Regions from separate parts of the Homo sapiens genome. Here region 1 is linked to region 2. Evidence: promoter capture Hi-C in 16 types of primary human blood cells and fetal thymus (Javierre and others, 2016). All regions are on one chromosome and are shown on one strand. The core of a region is centred on a gene start or on the middle of the fragment in contact, and the rest is flanking DNA. Distances in the headings are between cores, read along the strand shown. Region 1 has its middle 19 kb from the start of RGS20. Region 2 holds the start of LYPLA1 (lysophospholipase 1).

Evidence for each region. Contacts are between HindIII fragments. The CHiCAGO score rates a contact against its expected background, and 5 or more counts as called.
Region 1: a contact is called between a fragment that was not itself captured here and the fragment with the promoter of LYPLA1 in region 2, in 1 of 17 cell types (M0 macrophages). The highest score is 5.5, in M0 macrophages.

Annotation. Positions count from the first base shown.
Region 1 is chr8:53,858,721-53,865,568 of GRCh38, forward strand. It overlaps a transcript of RGS20 not described here. Among named protein-coding and RNA genes, the nearest start is that of RGS20, 19 kb to the right of the region's middle. The HindIII fragment of the contact is 602 bases long and covers 2,443-3,044 here.
Region 2 is chr8:54,096,642-54,103,846 of GRCh38, forward strand. LYPLA1 (lysophospholipase 1) reads right to left here and starts at 5,306. Exons shown (of 9, transcript NM_006330.4): 1 at 5,114-5,306; 2 at 4,267-4,298. The coding sequence starts at 5,182. LYPLA1-TCEA1 (LYPLA1-TCEA1 readthrough) reads right to left here and starts at 5,306. Exons shown (of 21, transcript NM_001425842.1): 1 at 5,114-5,306; 2 at 4,267-4,298. RefSeq lists a silencer at 4,860-5,429. The HindIII fragment of the contact is 1,923 bases long and covers 4,642-6,564 here.

The DNA.
Region 1 (6,848 bases), core at 1,494-3,993, 240 kb before region 2:
AGACGCCCCCAAGCAAGGAAGGTGGAGAAGGGTCTCCGGTGATCAGCTGGGGCAAGCTCAAAAGATTATTTGCTGCAGTTAATGTGGCCCCATTTTTTTTAACCTGTAGGCCATGTCCAATGCCTCCTTGACTGTCTGAAAAATATCCAGCAATGGAACTGGGGTTATGTTTAAAAAAAAAAAAAAAAAAAACCGCGGGGGGTGGGGCAGAGGAAGTGGGAAGTACTGAAAGGGTTTTCAGAAGAGAGATGTGGTCTTTGATTTGCCTTAAAATAATCCAGGGGAGGAGGAAAGTAGGAGTGTAAGAGATAATGCAGACTTGACAATGTGTTCTTAATTATTGAAACTGGGTGATGGACATGAGGGTTCATGAAGATAGTCACTCAGATTTTTTGTATTTTGAAAATTAACATAATACATTTGTTTTTAAGAATCCCAAAGACTAGAGCTTACGATGTACCTTTAAATTTAAATAACAAACGAACAAACTTTTCATATTCTATTTATACACCACAATGGAAGCTGTTGTGTATGCTGTCTAGCAAACATTCAGTAACTGCACAAATCATCTTGACCTTTTGGGGAATATTTTAAATGGCAAAAAATATCCCATATGAAAATCAAAGAAGCATACTGCAAAAATCCTGGCTAGCTTTAGTATACTGGTTTGTTTGTCTTTTCATTGATTTTACAACTCTCAGATTTTAAATGGTTTTAATGGTTACAGAAAAATATATCTAGTATCATTACCATTGTTCAAAAGTCTCATAAAATCATGTTGGCTTCCCTGCTGAAATCAAGCCAGTCTTCACAAAGCCACAGAATCACTGCAAATGTTTTAGAAAATTTACATTAAAGTTTTACCCTCTTGCAAGATAAAGATGTGAATAAACTATATTGGGAAACTCAGGGAGTGTATTAGTCCATTTTCATACTGCTGTGAAGAAATACCCGAGACTGGTTGATATATAAAGAAAAAGAGGTTTAATGGACTCACAGTTCCACATGGCTGAGGAGCCCTCACAATCATGGTGGAAGGCAAAGGAGGAGCAAAGGCATGTCTTACATGGTGGCAGGCAAGAAAGCGTGTGCAGGGGGACTGCCCTTTATAAAGCCGTCGGATCTCATGAGACTTATTCACTATCATGAGAACAGCATGGGAAAAACCCACCCCCACTATTCAGTTACCTCCCACCGGGTCCCTCCCATGACATATGGGGATTATGGGAGCTACAATTCAAGATGAGATTTTGGTGGGGACACAGCCAAACCATATCGGGGAGTAAACTTGTTTTTCTAGGTTCTCTAGAAACCATTTATTTCCATTCTATGAGAAAAGGTGATCCAAATCAAGCTTGTGTCACTTAAGAGTTTATTTTAGAAACATCTATAGAATGGTTTTACAGCTCCTGCATTTCAAATGACTGAAAAATGAAATTTTAAGATGAAGCAAATATGTTGAAAGGATAATAGTTTAAACCATATAGTGACAACTGGAATATATTCAAATATTCAAGAAAGAAACCCAAATCACAGACTACAAAAGTAATTTGATTTGACATCAACTATGTAACCAAATATGTTTTCCCATAAGACTATATTTGGCTTATATGATTTCGAATTCTCAACACTAAAAATTGTAAGGATTTATATTCAAGTGATAGATCATTCTAAGAACTTTTATTCAAAATAAGACTGGAAATGAACTAAAATATGCAAGACATTGTCTCAACACGTTTTTGTAACTGTCTGTTCAAATTGCATATGACTAGAAGACAAAAGGAAATAGCAAGGAGGCAGGAGGCTAGCAGCCCAGGAACCTCAGACCAGGAATCTGTGGAAGATAGTTTAACACCAGCAAACTGCCTCTAATAGCTGTGGCTCCATGTTCTCATTCCAAATTCCCAGGAGAGAGGATCTGGCCCAGTATAGATGTGGTCTCTGTCTCAAGATCCATCAGCCCTGCTGAGCGCAGTGGGTCACACCTCTAATCCCAGCACTCTGGGAGGCCAAGACAGGTGGATCACTTGACGTCAGGAGTTCGAGCCCAGCCTGGCCAACATGGTGAAACCCCATCTCTACTAAAAAATACAAAAATTAGCTGGGTGTGGTGGCACATGCCTGTAATCCCAGCTACTCAGGAGGCTGAGGCAGGAGAATTGCCTGAACCCAGGAGGCAGAGGCTACAGTGAGCCAAGATCACACCACTGCACTCTAGCCTGGGCAACAGAGTGAGACCCTGTCTCCAAAAAAAAAAAAAGATCAATCAGCCCTAGCTGTTCTTTAGGTTGTAAGACAATCTTAAGGGGTTGTCCAGCACATATTTTGAGTGATTGCAACTTTAAACCAACTTATGGGATTCCAAAATCAACGATGACACCTGAAGTAGACAGCCCTGATTTAGATATTTGAGGCCTGGCATTTTTATATCTATCACCCACAAGCTTTGTAATCACGCCTCAGAGATAATTCTACACATCTTCTCTGTTTATCTCCTATTCCCACCACCAGACATTCTGCAAAGTATCTGTGGATAAGCCCCACAAAACTAGAGTCAGCAGACCCTCAGCCCCTAGGGGACACAAGCTGTGAAGTTCTTGTGTGACCCTCTGTCCTCTCTTGAGTCAGCGTGACCCAGTGTGGGTCATCGGATAAACACCCACACTAATAAATGAATATTTTTACCTGTAAGTTATCAACAAAATATATAGATTGTGTGAAGTTACATAAAAATAGTTGAGCAAAATATGACCAAATGAAATGAATAAAACATTACTTGAAAGAAATGATCAAAGCAGTTGATACTACCAATGTCACACTGCATTTCCGAATTCTGTAATAAATCTGCTGTCTCTGCTTCTGTGAGTTGTATTTAAGGCTTTCATCTGTGACCATTTGCCCAGAGGATCATGTTCTGAAGGATATATTTTTGAAGTTTTCATTTGAAGAGAAAGTATTATTACCATCAACATCGTATCAGGAGGACATGCAATTAATTTTACAGACAGTTTTGTTGAAGAACAAGTTTGCTGGATTAAAAAGTAAGCTTATGATCAGCAAATAAAATCCAGGTACTATTGCTTCCTTTTTTCTGTTTTTGCCTTGTCTTAAAAATACCTGCACCTGATTATTTTTACCAACTTATTAGCATCATTAAGATCTCTAAGCTTCCCCTTTCCCAGAGCTGCAGTTTTGGAGAAGCCACACATCTCCCATCATTTGTTGGCCCGTGGGGAGTCCAAGCTTTGGGGGGGCCAACCATTGCCCCACATGGATTCTTTGCTACCCTGAAGATAAGCAGAGTGAAGGTGAGGAGGGTGTGAGGAACAGGAGGCAAAGGAGGGTCCCTCAGGCCCCTGGTCGTTAGCCTGGACCAAACTAGAAGTTAAGAGAAGTTTGCCTCCCCTCTCTCTCACCCACCCCTCACCTTGGACTCTTCGCCAACATCCACAGACATACCCTAGGAACCTCATTCTCTCATTCTGGCCTAGTTTCTCCCTTTAAAAAAAGAAACAAAAGTTCAAATTCAAATGCACTTAGATGTAAATGAATTCATACATCACTCCTGCTCATGAAATCTACAGGGAACACTCATATTAGATCCACAAGAATGAACCTGAGTAGTGTAATTTGGACCATATAAAATCTGAGCAGGTGGGAGACTTGGGGTTCAGGGCTACTTCCAGCCCCTCCTCAGAAACCACACTCCAGCGTGATGCAAATCCTGCTGGCTTCTACTTCTGATCACAGAGAAGGTGCAGCGTTCCTTGGTTCTGTCTTCACTTCAAAACCTCCTGCTTTATAAAAAATTAGCTGGAGGGCTAGGCATGGTGGCTCATCCCTGTAATGCCAGCACTTTAGGAGGCCAGTAGTTTGGGGCCAGCCTGGACAACAAAGAGAGATCCAGTCTCCACAAGAAAATTTAAAAATTAGCTGGGTGAGTGGCACATGCCCCTAAGTCCTAGCTACTCAGGAGGCTGAGGCATGAGGATTGCTTGAGCCCAGGAGTTAGAGACTGCAGTGAGCTATGATCATGCCACTACACTCCAGCCTGAGTGATGGAGTGAGACCCTATCTCTAAAAAGAAAAGAAAATCTCCTCCTTTTCTAAGTTGTTTTGGCCAAAAGCCAGGTTATAGTTCTGCTTGGTTTATCCATCAGAAATGGGCTGGGTTTTTAGATACACGAAATCACAAGGGGAGGGGGAAATAATGCCTTTGGGTTTTAGGAAATCGGGAACCAGAGAGCTCATGACATTTTCTTTTCTTTTCTTTTCTTTTGTTTTTGAGATGGAGTTTCGCTCTTGTTTCTCAGGCTGGAGTACAATGGCACGATCTCGGCTCACCGCAACCTCTGCCTCCCAGTTCAAGGGATTCTCCTGCCTCAGCCTCCCGAGTAGCTGGGATTACAGGCATGTGCCACCATGCCCGGCTAATTTTGTATTTTTAGTAGAGACGGGGTCTCTCCATGTTGGTCAGGCTGGTCTCAAACTCCGGACCTCAGGTGATCCGCCCGCCTCGGCCTCCCAAAGTGTTGGGATTACAGGTGCGAGCCACAGCGCCCGGCCATGACATTTTCAAATTCCTTCTCCCTGAGTCAAGATTCAGAGCTCATTGCTCCCTTCTTGGAATACAGCCCTCCACCTCACTCCCAGATGCAATAAGCATTCTCAGGGGCCCAAGAGCAGATGGGCTCTTCTTTGCTAATGCTTTTTAAAGGCAGGGAGTAGAACAATGGCAAATGGTGACATCTGGTGGAAATCCAAGCACTGCAGCACTTCGAACCAGTGCGACTTGAGGCTCAGTTGTAACTAACTGAAGTCTGAGTACTTGAAGATGTCCTTTTTTACCAAGTGAAAAGCTCAGTGATATCACCCTTTTGGCTGACACAGGTACACCCTGCCACCAAGCAAGATGATGACATAAAGGGCAATGTCTTTGAAATGCCAAGAATTGGTTTTTGAATTCAGGTCTAAGTTGTATTTCATTCTCTGAGTCTTTGTTTTATCTTTTTTTTTTTTTTTTTTTGGCAGAGTCTCACTTTGCCACCCAGGCTGGAGTGCAATGGCGCCAACTCGGCTCACTGCAACCTCTGCTTCCCCGGTTCAAGCAATTCTCCTGTCTCAGCCTCCCAAGTACCTGGGACTACAGGCTCATGCCACCACACCCAGCTAATTTGTATGTATTTTTAGTAGAGACAGGGTTTCACCATGTTAGCCAGGATGGTCTCAATCTCCTGACCTCGTGATCTGCCTTCCTCGGCCTCCCAAAGTGGTGGGATTACAGGCATGACATTTTATCTTCTATAAAATCAAGACAATAATACTTTTCACATTCAATTTGAATGGTTGCTTTGAAAAAATCAAATGAGACAAGGCATGTAAAAATGCTGGTAAACTATAAAGACATGGGCTTTTTTAAAAAACTCAGATCATGGTGGCTCACACCTGTAATCCCAGCACTTTGGGAGGCCAAGGCAGGTGGATCACTTGAGGTCGATCAGGAGTTCAAGACCAGCCTGGCCAACATGGTGAAACCCCGTCTCTACAAAAATACAAAAAAAAAATCAGCTGGGCATGATGGCGGGTGCCTGTAATCCCAGCTACTCGGGAGGCTGAGGCAGGAGAATAGCTTGAACCCAGGAGTTGGAGGTTGCAGTGAGCTGAGATTGTGCCATTGCACTCCAGCCTGGCGATAGAGCAAGACTCCATGAAAAAAAAAAAAAAAAAAAAACTCAGATACTTTGAGTTTTTCTTTTAAAAGCCTGCATCGGTGAGTCCAGCTTTCCATTAGCCCTGTGCTGCCTCCCGGGAACCCCTTGGAATCCTATGGGCTGGGTTTGTAGCCAGTTTCTCCCATAATAGTTGTTAATCTAGTTATCTCCATCTGCAGATGGACCTCGTACATAGTGGGCACAGAGTAAGAGCCCAGTTAATATTGATTGGCCAGTTGATTAGTAGATATAGAAATGCATTATTTCCCTAATTTTTTTCCACCATGTGGATGAAACAAGATTTCATCTGATTAAGGTCAGAGATCATATGGTATTTCTTGATGTCTTCAAACTGAAATTGTTAAAATCTTTCTTCAGACAAATGTTTCATATGCCCTGAAAGAAATTAATGACAGTTAAGAATTCTGAATGGCCCCTAAAATGTTTCATATCAAGGCAGTGCCAACCTCCAACTTCCCCAAGAAAACATCCCCTTTAAAATGCCAAGCAAAGCAGTCTAATTCAGTCGCGTCCAACTCAAAGAAATCAATGCCCGCTAACAAGTTCTCCCAGCAGCCAGGCCAGAGGAGGGAGAAAGCCTTAGAACGACAGGGCCCCGCATGGCCTGAACGAGGCTCACACAAAGCCTGGTTTATTAGGAACCACTGGAAAAGCTATAAAGCCCAGGCAGCCTTCCTGGGCCTGTCACAAATTGTCCACTTTGGAGAGAACAATGTCTTCCCTGTTCTTGCCGTCTTGTTTGTTGATTTTCAGGCTCCATCAGTGTGAAATTGAGAGATCCGGCCCAGGTCCGTGGGGACAAATGGAGTGGCCCTCTTGTGTCAGGCCTTCTCTGAACATCCATTTTAACAAACCTCATACCTTCAGGGTCTACTCATGCAATTGCTGCAGCCTCTATCCCACAGTTTCTCGCCTCTGTAATTGAGAAAGAGATGAGATGCATTGTTTAGAAATGTAAAACCACATCTATCAAAAAACATTTTTATTACAAAAGTGTTAGACATAATAGCATAATAAAACCGTATGTGCCCATTACCCAGCTTCAACAATTATCAACTCCAGATCATGACATTTCAAAGTTCATTCATTTAACAGATATTCATTAAGTACATGTTA
Region 2 (7,205 bases), core at 4,056-6,555:
CTGAGGCAGGAGACTCACTTGAACTCAGGAGGCAGAGGTTGCAGTGAGCCAAGATCACGCCACTACACTCCAGCCTGGACGACAGGGCGAGACAAGGTCTCAAAAAAAAAAAAAAAAATTAGCCGGGTGTGGCGGCACGCACCTATAGTCCCAGCTACTTGGGAGGCTGAGGCAGCAGAACTGCTTGAACCTGGGAGGTGGAGGTTCAGTGAGCCGAGATTGCACCACTGCACTCCAGCCTGGCTGGGTGACAGAGCGAGATTCTGTCTCAAAAAATAAACAAATAAATAAATAAATAGAAAATAAATCTGAGTCCATACTAACTAAATGGGGAGTAGCAGATTAATAAACAAAATGGAATGACAAAAAAAAAGGAATGACAGAATTGGAAAATCACACTGTAGAAATGATTGACTCAAGCAATTATCAATGGATGATAAAAATATTGGGTGAAAGCTTGATGAACAACTTGCATAGTCACAAAGTATCCCCCCGCAACTTGCTTTTTAATTACAAAAGGAAAGTAACTGCAGTCGAGACCTGGAAGATACCACCTTAATCAAAAGATCGAAGTTACAACAATAAAAGGACTCAGCATCATTAGTCTACTGATGCGCGCAATGAATAGGACATATTGTTTACATGGTATTTATACCAGAAATGCATAAACTGAATCTAATCATGAGTAAATACACAAACCCAAATTAAAGGACTAGCCTGTTCTCTGCAGAAGTGTCAATGTCGTGAAAGACAAAAGAAAATCTAGGGAATTGTTCCAGATTAAAAGAGACAAAAGAGACTAAAGAGACGTGATAACTAAATATAATGTATGACTAGGGAGGAGATAGCTATAAAGGATATTAATGGAACAATCTGGCAAAGGTTGAATGCATAATATATTAGATAATACTAAATGTTAAATTTAATGGGATAACTTTTCTGTGATTATATAATGTTTAAAATACCCTAGTCCTTCTCACCCACAGTTTTGTTTTCCATGGTTTCAGCTGCCCACAGTCAACTGTGGTTCGAAAATATTACATGGAAAATTCCAGAAATAAACAGTGGGGGATGCTCTAAAACCCCTAGTGGATGCCTGAATCCATGGATAACACCAAACCCTATATATACTATGTTTTTTCCTATACATAATGCTTGTGATAAAGTTTATTGTGTAAATTAGACATAGGAAGAGATTAACAATAATAAAACAATTATAACAATATGACAACATCACTTCTCTTGCACTTTGGGGCCATCATTAAGCAATGTAAGGCTTATTTGGATAAAAGCACTACAGGCTGGGCGAGGTGGCTCATGCCTGTATTCCCAGCACTTTGGGAGGCCAAGGCGGGCAGATCGCTTGAGGTCAAGAGTTCCAGACTGGCCTGGCCAACATGATGAAACCCCGTCTCTACTAAAAATACAAAAATTAGCCGGGTGTGGTGGTGCACGCCTGTAGTCCCAGCTACTCAGGAGGCTGAGGCAGGAGAGTTGCTTGAACCTGGAGAGTGGAGGTTGCAGTGAGCCATGATTGTGTCACTGCATTCCAGCCTGGGTGACAGAGCAAGACTCTGTCTCAAAAAAAAAAGCAAAACAATACCAAAACAGTTGACCTGATAACCCAGATGGCTACCAAGTGACTAACAGATGGTGAATGGATATAGCATGGATACGCTAGGTAAAGGAATGATTCGTGTCCTGGGTGAGACGGAATGAGATTTCATCACAATACTCAGAATGGTGTACAATTCAGGCCAGGCATGGTGGCTCATGCCTGTAATCCCAGCACTGCGGGAGGCCGAGGTGGGTGGATCACTAGAGGTCAGGAGTTCAAGACCACCCTGGCCAACATGGCAAAACCCCATCTCTACTAAAAATACAAAAAAATTAGCTGGACGTGGTAGCACGCGCCTGTAATCTCAGCTACGCCGGAGGCCGAGGCACAAGAATCACTTGAACCCGAGTGGCAGAGGTTGAAGGGAGCCGAGATCGTGCCACTGCACTCCAGCCTGGGTGACAGAGTGAGACTCCATCTCAAAAAATAATAATAAAATAAATAAAAAAGAATGGTGTACAATTTTAAACTTATAAAGTATTTCTGGAATTTTTCATTTAGTATTTTCAAACCACAGTTAACCACGGGTAACTGAAACCATGGGAAGCAAAACTGCAGGTAAGGGGAGACTACAATATCTTAAGTATTAAATTGCCACTTGTCAGGCTGACAGGTTCGAAGTTTCATCATGCACTCATGGAACCAATCTAGAGTCAGCCTTTCCTTAGCATTATCCCACCAAATAATTTCAGAACTGGAGACCTTTGTTTTTTCTTTTATCACAACAGGTTAAAAAGAAGGATACTTTTTTAATATAAACTTAACTTTTGGTCAAGATGTAATGGATGTTCTTGGTATTTTTGATCCTAATAGTCTTCACCATTTTTACTTTTAGCTTCAGTCTGTGGAATCTGCCTAGACTGAAGTTTTTTTTTTTTTGCTTGAACTAATCATTCAGGCATAGAAGTGCTCATTATTGGCAAAGTTAGAGGATAGCAACCTTCTCCCTGACTTGCAACATCAAGAAAGGTTTGGCCATAAAATAGAGATTCTGCTATTCGAGTTTCATTTGGTAAAATAAGTTCATCATTTTCACAGGACCACTGGATTGCCAGAAAGAGTGCTGCAACCTTTTCTGTAACTCCATACAAAGTTTGTATTACATAACTCGACTTATTAGGCAAAAAATAGGAATCACTTTTAAGTGGTGGCTCACGCCTGTAATCCCAGCACTTTGGGAGGCTCAGGTGGGTGGATCATTTGAGGTCAGGAGTTCGAGACCAGCGTAACCAACATGGCAAAACTCTGTCTCTACTAAAAATACAAAAATTAGCTGGCATGGTGGCAAGCAACTGTAGTCCCAGCTACTCGGGAGACCCAGGAACCCAGAAGGTGGAGGTTGCAGTGAGTCAAGATCACGCCACTGCCCTCCAGCCAGGGCAACACAGCAGACCCTGTCTCCAAACAAACAAACAAAAATCTAGCCTAATGGCATTTTTTTTTTTTTTGAGTCTCACTCTGTGGCCCAGGCTGGAGTGCAGTCGTGCAATCTTGGCTCACTGAAGCCTCTGCCTCCCAGGTTCAAGTGATTCTCTTCTCTCAGCCTCCCTAGCAGCTGGGATTACAGGCATGCACCACCACACCCGGGTAATTTTTATATTTTTAGTAGAGATGGGGTTTCACCATATTGGCCAAGCTGGTGTCGAACTCTTGACATCAAGTGAACTACCCACCTCGGCCTCCCAAAGTGCTGGGATTACAGGTGTGAGCCACCGCGCCCGGCCCCAATGGTTCATTTTAAAGAAAATTTAGTCGTTCTGGGGCTACTTTATCAAAATTTATTTATCTTCAGTTTTCCTCTATTTCTGCAATTTTTCAACAACATTCATATTTTGCTTAAGTTTCACAGATTATCACCAATTTAAATATAAAAACAAAAACATCTCAATATAGAAAAAGCTTGAGTAAAAGATAAATCATGTATCTAAAGTTAGTACAAAAGGCCAGGCTCAGGCAGCTCCCACCTCTAATCTCTGTGCTTTGAGAGGCTGAGGCTGAAGGATCACTTGAGCCCAGGAGTTCAAAGCTGCAGTGAGCTAAGATCCTGCAACTGCACTCCAGCCTGGGCGACAGAGAGAGCCCTTGTCTCTAAAAATAATAACAAAAGAAAAAAGCAAACAAACAAAAAATAAAATAAAAATAAGTAGTTAGTACAACAAATTGTTTGATAAGCCTCCAAATAAATCTTTGAGTTGCCTCCCCTGCCTTTCAACTCATTAGAGTGAACATCTAATCCCTCTATTCAGAATGCTGCATGCCTTATGTTGCCACTAGTTCTCTTATCAAAATCAACTAGTTCTTCTCTTCAATCTGCTCTGAAATTTTAACTGCTCTGGAAAGCTCTCAATTGCACACCGTCCCTACTAACATTCCACGGATCTCTGGTATCCAATACCCAAAGCAACTAATGAGGAATTTGAAATTTTAATATGTTCCAGAAACCAGAGTTAAAAAATCAATAAACTCACGATGATAAGGGGAAAATTCTGAGGGTTTTCAAAACATAAAATCACCGCACTGTAAGATACATTAACTGGCAATCTTAAAATACCATTTTAGCGCCCTTAAACATTAAACCTTTGAACGCGTAAACAAAAGTTGCATGACCCAGTTTCATTACTGTTACTATTAATAATAATGGTACCTACCCAGTATCTCCCAATCCATGCAGGAAAATCACCTATAAGAGAAGAGGAAAATTAATAAGCAATGCCTAAATAAGCCCACACAGGATTGTTACACACTAGCTTTGCTTAAGGTGGAAAACGGAACGAAACCTACGAGAGAATTACACAACACTATCTTCGGCGACTTAATCTTTATCGACCTCTTTTAAATGGCAAAAATTCTGATCAACTTCTCCCTTTATTTCCTGAGATAATGAATGGGGGGGGGGTAGCACTGAGAGGTCCCAGTTAGACATTGAGTGCAAATGATCACATTCTAAGAAAAACAGTTTATCTCTTTCAAGTGAAATCAGGAACATCTCACATATCCTGTAGAATTTTTCCACTGCAAAAGCAAGCTTCCGGAGGCAAAAATAAGTTTGACTTTTCATACACGAGTTTTCTAAAAAACAGTACGTCTGACCTTGTAGGACACTCAATCTTCAAACTTCTTTCATTGAGGATAAGAGTGCGAGGTGACAATAAGGCGATTTCCTGGCGGACTTAGGTTTCCCTCACCCACACACCAGGCAGAAACACGCTGCAGAGGCTGACGCCGTGCCCTAGGCCGGCCCGCGGGGGTCCCGGGGCCACACTTCCTCCGCAATGCAGGGAGGAGCTGGGGACTGGCCCTCGCGCCGGCTGTGACCCCCCGGCTGCCCCCGCCCCCCGCGGACCCGGCCGCGCGGACCATTCGCACCCCACCCGGGCCGGGAGGAGCGTCCTCGTCCGCAGGCCGCCACGCGCCCGCAACGCCCACCCCGCGCGAGGGGCAACCACCGGTGGCCGGCCCAGTGGACCCCTCCGAGCCCACGCCTACGCCACTCACCGCAGCGGTGGCCTTCCGGGCGGCGGGCACGATGGCGGGCAGCGGGGTTGACATGTTATTGCCGCACATACACCGCCTCAGCTCACAGCGCAAGCGGAAGGAAGAGCGGGCGCCCGGCCGCGGCCCAAGGGCGTGCGAGCGGCGAGTCCCGGCCGGCCCCACCGGGCGCACGCTCAGGCGCGTGCGCGCCAACGCGGCCCCGCGCTACCTTCCGCGCGCGCCCGCGCGTCCAGGGTCCGCCCTGCCCTGCCCCTCGCCCGCCGCCCCTCCCTCGGCACCTCACAATGTCCGGGCGGCTCCCTCCCTCCGATTGGCTGCGGCGGCAGCGCGGACCTGGCTGCGCTTTCGCCACACCACGCAGCCTGCGCATGCTCAGTGCTGGCTAGGGAAAATGTGCTCTCAGGTGCAGGCTGAGGGCTGGTCTCTTGGGTCTTGGTTTAGGTTTTTGCTTTTCTGGCGCTGTAGTGAAAAGAATGAGCCCCAGAGCCAATTCACCCAACCCAACCCCAGGTGCTCCTTGGTTTCCTGCGGCCGGGGTCTATCCATTTGTAAAAGTCTGGATGGACTGGGAGACGTTGATGGAGCTTTTGCAGTATTTCCGTTTGGGGCTACAGCAGTATGTAGATTTGGGTTCAACTTACCTTCTTTAAACTTTAGTTGGAAAGGGTAACATTTGTCACCAGAAATCCACTACTTCCCTAACTTGATCGACAACACTTACTGATGTACGGATATTGACACAGTACAGGTTTAAGTGAGAGGTAAAGCCAGCTGGTCTTCTGGGTCGGTTGGGGACTTGGAGAACTTTTCTGTCTTACAAGAGGATTGTAAAATGTACCAACAGCACTCTGTAGCTAGGATTGTAAAATGCACCAATCAGCACTTTGTGGCTAGCTAGAGGTTTGTAAAATGCACCAATCAGTACCCTGTAAAACGGGCTAATCAGTGTTCTGTAAAGTGGACCAATCCGCAGGACTTGGGCCGGGACAAATAAGGAAATAAAAGCTGGCCACGCCCCCCATCCCCTAGCTGGCAGTGGCAGCCCTGGGTCCCCTTCCACACTGTGGAAAGTTTGTTCTTTCACTCTTCACAATAAATCTTGCTGCTGCTGCTCACTCTTTGGGTCTGTGGGACCTTTAAGAGCTGTAACACTCCCAGCACTTTGGGAGGCCGAGGCGGGTGGATCAGGAGGTCAGGTGATCGAGACCATCCTGCCTTAACACGGTGAGACCTCGTCTCTACTAAAAATACAAAAAAAAAAAATTGGCCGGTCGTGTAGTCCAAGCTACTTGGGAGGCTGAGGCAGGGGAATGGCGTGAACCTGAGAGGCAGAGCTTGTAGTGACCTGAGATCGCGTCACTGCACTCCAGCCTGGGAGACAGAGAGAGACCTTGTCTCAAAAAAAAAAAAAAAAAAAAAAAAAAACTGTAACACTCACCACGAAGGTGACAAGCTTTATTCTTGAAGTCAGCGAGACCATGAACCCACCGGAAGGAACCAACTCTGGACACATAAGCATGAGACTAGACTGCCCTTTTCTGCACAGGTGCCTTTATGGCCTAAAATGTAGTTACTCAACAAATGTGTTGCATATCAACTACATGGTAAGATCTGGAAGAGAGCACAAGATAGAAACACTTAAAGCCAAAATGCCCTGACCTTCAGAAGTTTACAATTCAGTGAAGGACATACTGGAGGCCGGGCGCAGTGGCTCAAACCTGTAATCCCAGCACTTTGGGAGGCCGAGGTGGGCGGATCACGAGGTCAGGAGATTGAGACCATCCTGGCTCACACGGTGAAAACCCGTCTCTACTAACAATACAAAAAAAAAAAAAAATTAGCTGGGTGTGGTGGTGGTTGCCTGTAGTCCCAGCTACTCGGGAGGCTAAGGCAGGAGAATGGCATGAACCCAGGAGGCGGAGCTTGCAGTGAGCCAAGATAGTACCACTGCACTCCAGCCTGGGCAACAGAGCAGGACTCCATCTGAAAAAAAAAAGGACATACTGGATACCATCCTTAGAGAGTAAGGTTCGGAAGAAAGCTGTAAAAAAAACAACACTCCATTTCTTTCACACGGTAACCAGTGTCAGAG